2 separate regions of the Homo sapiens genome follow, and region 1 is linked to region 2. The links are contacts of gene promoters, found by promoter capture Hi-C in blood cells and fetal thymus (Javierre and others, 2016). All regions are on one chromosome and are shown on one strand. Each heading gives the region's core, a stretch centred on a gene start or on the middle of the fragment in contact. The rest is flanking DNA. Distances are from core to core; before and after follow the strand shown. Region 1 has its middle 3.0 kb from the start of TRT-TGT2-1. Region 2 holds the start of HLX (H2.0 like homeobox).

The links. The method cuts DNA at HindIII sites, captures the fragments that hold promoters and counts their contacts. A CHiCAGO score of 5 or more calls a contact.
Region 1: a contact is called between a fragment that was not itself captured here and the fragment with the promoter of HLX in region 2, in 3 of 17 cell types (M0 macrophages, naive B cells and total B cells). The highest score is 5.7, in M0 macrophages.

What each region holds. Positions count from the first base shown.
Region 1 is chr1:222,460,080-222,463,983 of GRCh38, forward strand. No RefSeq gene overlaps it. Among named protein-coding and RNA genes, the nearest start is that of TRT-TGT2-1, 3.0 kb to the right of the region's middle. The HindIII fragment of the contact is 4,058 bases long and covers 1-3,904 here.
Region 2 is chr1:220,877,334-220,881,712 of GRCh38, forward strand. HLX (H2.0 like homeobox) reads left to right here and starts at 2,110. Exons shown (of 4, transcript NM_021958.4): 1 at 2,110-3,116; 2 at 3,861-4,040. The coding sequence starts at 2,525. HLX-AS1 (HLX antisense RNA 1) reads right to left here and starts at 2,807. Exons shown (of 3, transcript NR_046901.1): 1 at 2,516-2,807. RefSeq lists a silencer at 1,667-1,716 and an enhancer at 2,835-3,443. The HindIII fragment of the contact is 7,579 bases long and covers 668-4,379 here.

The DNA of each region.
Region 1 (3,904 bases), core at 643-3,142, 1.6 Mb after region 2:
CCAGATGCGAGGCTCTGCATAAAGTGTTTACATGCTTCATTTCATTTATTCTTCACAAGTCCCCACATGAGATGGTATTATAGTTATTACCATCATCATTCCCATTTTATAAATGAGGAATCTGAGTAGACTGTACTGCCTGTTCCTCTTCCTTAGCACTGGTCCCCACAGTCCACCCATTTTCTGAATAATGTCTGTTTTCCTACTAGTCTGTATGCTTGGCTAGAGCAGAGACCGCATCAGGATTGGCTGATCACTTAATCCCCAAACTGGCGGAGCAGAGCCAGAACTGAGACATGAGCAGGCTGGCCCCCAGGGCCTTGTGTGCTCACCCTCTGCTCTCATGGAAGGTGAGTCTGCAAAGCTGAGAAGTGGGTTCCTGGGAGGTGGGCAGGCCCTTGGGGTATGTATGGGTCAGGAAGGCAGTGGAAGAGAGAGTTTTAGGAGGAAAAGCAGTCATCGGCACCACGTGCTGCCAAGACACCAAGGCTTCACCCACATAGAGCTTACCTAGTGCCAATGAGGGTCATTTTGGTGGAGCTGTAGGGCCAGAAGACAGATGGGGCAAGTGGAATGTGTGAAAGGTAAGGGTCAGAGTGAATGTGTGGGGACAACTCACTGGAGTTGAAGGGCAGTTTTTATTTTATTTTATTTTATTTTCCACGAGAGAGACACAGAAGCAGACGGGAAGGATCCAGTTGAGCATGAGAGGTTGAGTGTCCCAGGGATAAAGGGCATAGTGGTCCTGCAGGGGTCCTCAGAGGGAAGAGAGGACTGGGCCAGGCTTGGTGGCTCATGCCTGTAATCCCAGCACTTTGGGAGGCCGAGGTGAGCAGATCACCTGTAGTCAAAAGTTTGAGGCCAGCCTGACCAACATGGCAAAACCTCGTCTTTACTAAAAGTACAAAAATCAGCCGGGCATGGTGGCAGGCATCTGTAATCCCAGCTACTCAGGAGGCTTAGGCAGGATAATTGCTTGAACCCAGAGGCAGAGGTTGCAGCGAGCTGAGATCATGCCACTGCACTCAAGCCTGGGCGACAAGAGCAAGACTCTGTCTCATAAAAAAAAAAAAAAAAAAAAAAAAAAAAAAAAAAAAAAAAAAAAAAAAAAAGAGGGCTCTCACTGGGGAGAGATAAAGCTCCTCTACCATAATCGAAGGGCAGGCAGGAAAGTGAACCTGGCCGCACAGGTCCAGGTGGGCAGTCCCTGAAGGGAGGTGAGGCTGGACCTGTGCTGACCTCTTTGCACCCAGCAGCACATTATATCCTGAAAGTGTGTACCCTCCTAGCTCCACTTCCCAGGTGAACAGGAGCTTCAAAAGTTAAGTAATTTTCAGAGGCTGGGAAGGGGGACTGAAGAGAGGTTGGTGATATACTCTGGTTCTGTGTCCCCACCCAAATCTCATCTTGAGTTGTAATCCAAATTATAATCCCCATGTGTTGGGGGAGGGACCTCATGGGAGGTCACTGAATCATGGAGATGATTACCCTCATGCTATTCTCGTGATAGTGAGTGAGTTCTCATGAGATCCAATAGTTTTATAAGGGGCTTTTCCCCAGTTTTGCTCGGCACTCCTCCTTCCTGCTGCCATGTGAAGGACATGTTTGCTTGTTTGCTTCCCCTTCTGCCATGATTGTAAATTCCTGAGGCCTCCCTAGCCCTGTGGAACAGTGAGTCAATCAAATCTCTTCCCTTTGTAAACTACTCAGTCTCGGGCAGCTCTGTATAGCAGCATGAGAACAGACTAATACAGTTGGTCAATGGGTACAAACATACAGTTAGATAGAAGGAATAAGTTCTAGTGTTCGATGGCACAGTAGGGTGACTATAATTATCAATAATGTATTGTATATTTCAAAATAGCTAGTAGAAAAGATTAGAAATGTTCCTAGCACATCATTTCACCCATGATGAAGTTCAAGTTCCTTCTTCTCATGAAGTCGCAGCTTTTTTCTGGCACTAGATAAGCTCAAAGGTTCCTTCTGGCCCTTACATCCTCATACCCTCTGACCTTGAGTCTGACTTTGGACAGGACAGTAGAAGGTCTGCTCCCAGGAGGAGAGGATGCACGTGGGACAATGACTCAGAGGAGAGCCAGACAGCCCCTACACCAAGTGGGTGGGAGAGCCTTCCTGGGCTGTCTTCTGTTTCCCACCACCTCAGGGATACCAGGGATTCTATGGGGAAGGGGAGAGGATGTAGGCAGGGGACAAAGGACAGAATGAGGGTGAAGGAGGTGAGAAAGCAAAGCAACTATCTTCTTAAGGCAAAAAGAAGTCCCTTTAACACACAAAACAGCTGAGGGATGTGGCTGGGACTTACTAGTTTTCATCTCCTTTCCCTCCCAACAAAACTGGACCGTGGGATGCCTTCCCTCCTGGCAGTGCCAGAAGCTGGAATCTCTCCACGTGGTTTTCTGCTGAGGGTTGACCATAGACCAGAAGTAAATGCTCAACCTTTGAAGAACATTCCCTTTTATGTTCGTTTCTGGCATTTCACAGTTTCCTAGCACTCTCAGGTTCACTATTGTGTTGAATCCCTCAAAATGCTCTGAAACAGAGAGGCCAAAATTATCACCTCCATTTTACAGTCTTTATAGGATGTCTACTTTATCTTTATTTCATCTTACCATTTAACTTTGTGTCCTTTTTCTTACAGTACAGAAATTGGAATTGAAAAGAGGAGAGGTTCCATTTGTCTATCACATGCTACCTCCTGCTGCTGGGAGATAACGTGCATCAGTATTGGGAGGAGGGGTCGAGGGTGGTGCTGTGCCAACTCAAGGGAATGGAAGAAGGGAAATTCAAAATTCATTTGTTGAAGTCCTAAGACCCAGTCCCTAAGAATGTGACCTTATTTGGAAAGAGTCTTTTCATAGGTAATCAAGTTAAAGTGAGGTCAGTAGGGTGGGCCCTAACCCAATCTGACTGGTGTCCTTATAAAAAGGAGAAATTTGGATACAGAGCTATACATAGAGGGAAGATGATGTGAGGAGACACAAGGAGAAAATGGCCATCTACAAGCCAAGGAGATCCTTCCTTCACTGCCCTCAGAAGGAACCAGCCCTATCAACACCTTGATTTCATACTTCTAGCCTCCAGAGCTAGAAGATAATACAGTTCTGTTGTTTAAGTCACCTAGTGTGAGGTATTTTGTTACAGCAGCCCTAGCAAACTAATACACTCCTCAAAATCGCCTCTGAGATGGAAAATAAGCCAGCTCTCTAAGGCTCTTGCCAAGACAACATAAGACATTAAAATCAGGCTTATATGTTTCAGGTGGAAGGAACCATGTGCGATGAGAGATGAAAGTACCTGCAGGTAGCTTGAGAGGGAGGGAAAGTTTGTATATGAAAGATGAAATTACTGAGGAGTTTGACCTTTACCCAGAGTACAGTGAGAAGGCACTGAAGGTTCCCGGAGCTGAGGAGGGACGACAGGCAGTAAATCTCAGAGCAATGGGCCGGGGAAGCAGGAGAAGGAGAGAACCAGATAAGCTGCAGAATCGAAGGGTGATGCAAAATTCCAATGTAGACGGAGAGGCAACGCAAGTGAATATAAGGCAAAATGATGAGAAGACAGCTCCCAAAGCACTTCCCTGATTTCTCTTTTCTCTTAATTTACTAAATGAGCATCATCAGAGATGTCATTCATTTCAACATTTGTTGAGCATCTACTATGAGCCAGAGAGTATTCTGGTGTTGAGAAGACAACAGTGAATAAAACAGATCAAAGCCTTAGCCCTCAAAGAGCTGATATTCTATTAGGGAGAGATACATGAAGAATAAAAAACAATAAGCGCATTATCTACTACAAAAGAAGGTTAAGTAGTATGGAGTAAAAAGAGCAGAATAAGGAGGATGGTGCAGCTGTAAACAGGGGATCAGGACAGCTCTCACTGAGA
Region 2 (4,379 bases), core at 860-3,359:
CCCAGCGCTCCGGGCCTTGAATCTCGGCAGATGCGAGTTGTGGGCACCTAGGGAACCCTGAGGACTCGCATTCCCCCGGGTCTGTATCCCGTGCCCACCCCGGAGCGTCGCAAACCTTGGAAAGGGTGAAAGCTGATAGGGGAGTCTTATTTCTTAAGAGAGAGGGTGAGGGCGCGCGGCGCTGCCTCGGGTAAGGAGTAAATGCACCTCTTTCACAACCGTGAGTTTGGGCTTAGGCTGAGGTCTAAATGTTTGCAGTCAAATTAGAAACGCAATCAAACTGGAAGTGGCACTAGAAAGCAGAGGGCTCACGGCCTCCGCTACGCACACTCCCACCGAAGGCTCACCAGAACCCTCAGCCAGCGCCTCAATTGCCCATGTTGTACTTGTCGCTCCTTTGCCTTCACCTTGACACAGAAAAACTGGTCTTAATACGTCTCTCGCCCCAGGTACCCCTACCTTCAGCCAAACACACCCATCTATCTCTGGAAATAGCACCTCTCTCCTGGTTGCGTGGAGCAGGGGAAGAAAACCTTTCAGTAAAAGAGAGATGGAGAGCGAGAGCGGGAGAGCTGGAGGGCGGGAGGAGGGAGAGAGAGAGGGAGAGGGAGAGATCTTAGTGCTGGCTGATCAGAAGTGATTGATAATTTTCCAGGAGAAAGTCAAAAGCTTAAAAGGATAGCATCTGCATCAAGGGGCTAGAGAAAACACCAGAAATTAATTTTATAAGCCCAAACCCTGAACTCGAGATAGGCATGGCAAGTTCACTTGCTTTTCTGGGTTTATTTGGTGAGGAGCCTTCGTGCTGAAGGGAAATAAAAATGTCACAGAATCCCTGTTAGGAGATGCTTATTAGGGCAATCGAAAACAAAAGTTTTCGTGGTTTCATTATTCGTATTATTTTATTTTCTTCCTGAAAATGTGCAAGAACAGCTCATCTGGGTGGCCTGTGGTTTGTTTGGGAGAGGGGTGGGGAAATTCATTCTGACTATAATTTAAAGAGAAGAAATTCTTAAAATAGATATGTCGATGTTGCACAAAACCTCCACCACCACTACCCTGCGTTCTAAAGACCCAAGGCACGAATGGAAGACGTTGACCACCACGCAGCTCCTCCTGCAACCAGGCCCAAGGGGTTCCTGGGGAAGCTGTCACAGAATTGAAAGCAGTATTGAACCCCACGGAAATCTGCTCTTGTGGGCACTTGCAAAACAACGAACCCCACGTGATCCGGAGATGTGGTGGAGGGGTGAGGCTAACATTTCCTACAACCTCCTGCAAAGGATGGAAGCGCGTGCCGCTCTCCCGGGTTTCGGGAGGCAGCCTGTTTTGTAGCCTCTGAGGCTCCGGGGAAAGGTTTGGCTGCGTCTAAGAGAGACGTTTGGAGCCATCCGTCTTATTTTGTTTGAAAAGTCACTCGTTCAATTTGTCACTGTGTGACAGCTCAGAATAAAACCAATTTGCGGCCGCCCCTCCTCCTCGCTTCCCGGAGGATCTCCTGGGAGGCACGAGGCGGACGCGGTGCTGAGTTGGGCCGGGACTCAGGGCGGCAACATTTGGGCAAGGGCCCAGGAAAGATGAGGGGCTTTGCCGAGGACACGGACTCCTGGAATAAAAGCAGAATGAGGTCAAGAGAAGGGAAGCAAAGGGGCCAAAGCGCGCTCCGCTCTCCACCGGGAGGCGGGCTTTGCAGAGCCCTAAAGAGTGAGATTACCGTCCCTTCCCCACGCCCCCAACTCGCCCCGGGTGACAAGCGCTTCAGGAAAGCTCCTGTGATCAACCCTCCTTGCCCCGTGGCGGTTCGGAGCTGCAGAAGTTAGAAGAGAGTCAGAGCCCTCCGGAGCGGCTGCCTGGCCCCTACGCAGAGTAGCAAGAAGCACTGCGATGTGCGCTACTAAGCCCACGCGGCCGCAGCAAAAACTTTGGCGTGGCCGGGGCGTGGCTAGGGTCCGGCCAGGCCCCCTTGTTCCTAATTCCCCTCCACTCCCCGCTCCCATTGGTCACGAGGATGACCAATGAGCGCTCGGATCGAGGTCCTACCCCGGGCCTGACTCGAAAGCTCCTGCCAAAACTTTGGGAGTTTTTAGAGACGAGTTTTTTTTTTTTTCTATTACTTTTCCCCCCCCCTAACTAACGGACTATTATTGTTGTTGTTTTAAATTTAGCTCTTAGGGCTTAGCTATTTGGGTTTTCTTGCGGTGTCCGGCTCCCGTCTCCCTGGCTCCCCCGCCCGCCCTGCGGCCCCAGCGCCCCTCGCTCTCATCCAGCCCGCGAGGAGTGCGGGCGCCGCGCCGCCTTTAAAGCGAGGCCAGGGAGCGAGGCGGTGACCGGCCGAGATCCGGCCCTCGCCTCCTCCCTCGGTGGCGCTAGGGCTCCCGGCCTCTCTTCCTCAGTGCGGGCGGAGAAGCGAAAGCGGATCGTCCTCGGCTGCCGCCGCCTTCTCCGGGACTCGCGCGCCCCTCCCCGCGCGCCCACCCACCCAGTCCGGCTGGACTGCGGCAGCCGCGCGGCTCACCCCGGCAGGATGTTCGCAGCCGGGCTGGCTCCCTTCTACGCCTCCAACTTCAGCCTCTGGTCGGCCGCTTACTGCTCCTCGGCCGGCCCAGGCGGCTGCTCCTTCCCCTTGGACCCCGCCGCCGTCAAAAAGCCCTCCTTCTGCATCGCAGACATTCTGCACGCCGGCGTGGGGGATCTGGGGGCGGCCCCGGAGGGCCTGGCAGGGGCCTCGGCCGCCGCCCTCACCGCGCACTTGGGCTCGGTTCACCCGCACGCCTCTTTCCAAGCGGCGGCCAGATCCCCGCTTCGACCCACCCCAGTGGTGGCGCCCTCCGAAGTCCCGGCTGGCTTCCCGCAGCGGCTGTCTCCGCTCTCAGCCGCCTACCACCACCATCACCCGCAACAACAACAGCAGCAGCAACAGCCGCAGCAGCAACAGCCTCCGCCTCCGCCCCGGGCTGGCGCCCTGCAGCCCCCGGCCTCGGGGACGCGAGTGGTTCCGAACCCCCACCACAGTGGCTCTGCCCCGGCCCCCTCCAGCAAAGACCTCAAATTTGGAATTGACCGCATTTTATCTGCAGAATTTGACCCAAAAGTCAAAGAAGGCAACACGCTGAGAGGTAGGTCTTGGGCGGGAGGCTGCAGGCCTCTGACCACTGACCCACTCCCCGGACCCCGGGCTGGCTTGGGGTGCCTTTGAGTGTTTTTACAATTAAGGACAAATCGGTAAAACGGGAGAGAAGAAAACGAATTGTAAGAAAACTACAAAACATTAGGTCTAAAACTCACCTGTTCTATGTAAAACAAACAAAAAATGACTCCAGGGATTCTTTAAAAACACGTCTTAGAATCAATATTTATAAAAGTGGTTGGTGTAATTATCTGCTAACATGACTTTGATCTCTTTAATAATGTATCTAGAGACAGAATTATATTTTCTGACAGCTAAAGCATTTTTGGGAAACACTTTCGCACTTATCTGATTTCTAGTAAAAATTTCACCCAGGAAATGTAAATAATAAACAAAACCGCCTAGATGAGCGGGCAGAGTGGGGCCACCTTGGGGCGGAGGTTTTGCGTCTGTGGCGTTCTTGGAAGACACGTGAAAGTGAGGCCGTAAGCCGATTTATGTAAAGCCTTTACTTACTATATACATGCATATGGACGTGAGGGACACACAGGAACTTTTCGTGCGTCGCTCCTTGGCAACTGTTGGGAGAGAGAGGTTTCAGCGCCTAGACGGGTTCTCTCTTGACTTCGCTCAATAAAAGTGAATCCAGGGCAAGGGGAAGGGGAGGAACAAATCAGCGGAGAGTGTGAGTGTGCCCGAGATGTAACCTGCTATCCTTTTCCCTTGTCCCCAGATCTCACTTCCCTGCTAACCGGTGGGCGGCCCGCCGGGGTGCACCTCTCAGGCCTGCAGCCCTCGGCCGGCCAGTTCTTCGCATCTCTAGATCCCATTAACGAGGCTTCTGCAATCCTGAGTCCCTTAAACTCGAACCCAAGAAATTCAGTTCAGCATCAGTTCCAAGACACGTTTCCAGGTACGGAAAAACTCCAGAGTACTGCCTAACGGGCGAGCCGACTAACAGTCAGAAATCTCAGGACTGACGCCTCCAGGGCTGCCACGGTGTCGCAATCTCACAATTGGGGCGGGAGGCTACGGAGTCAGGAGAGAGAAACCGAAAGATTTCTCAGCGAGCTAGCGCTCGCTTCGGATGGTTCCCCTTGAAAAGGGGTAGAGGCGCCTGGAGATCCCAGAAAGTGTGTGCGTGGACGGTGGGGTGGGGGGCTTTCTCGAAGTCTTTTCGCCCCAGAGGGCTTGAAAAATGCAGCATCAATGTTGCTTATTAGCATATACACATTTTGGGATGACCTCAAAC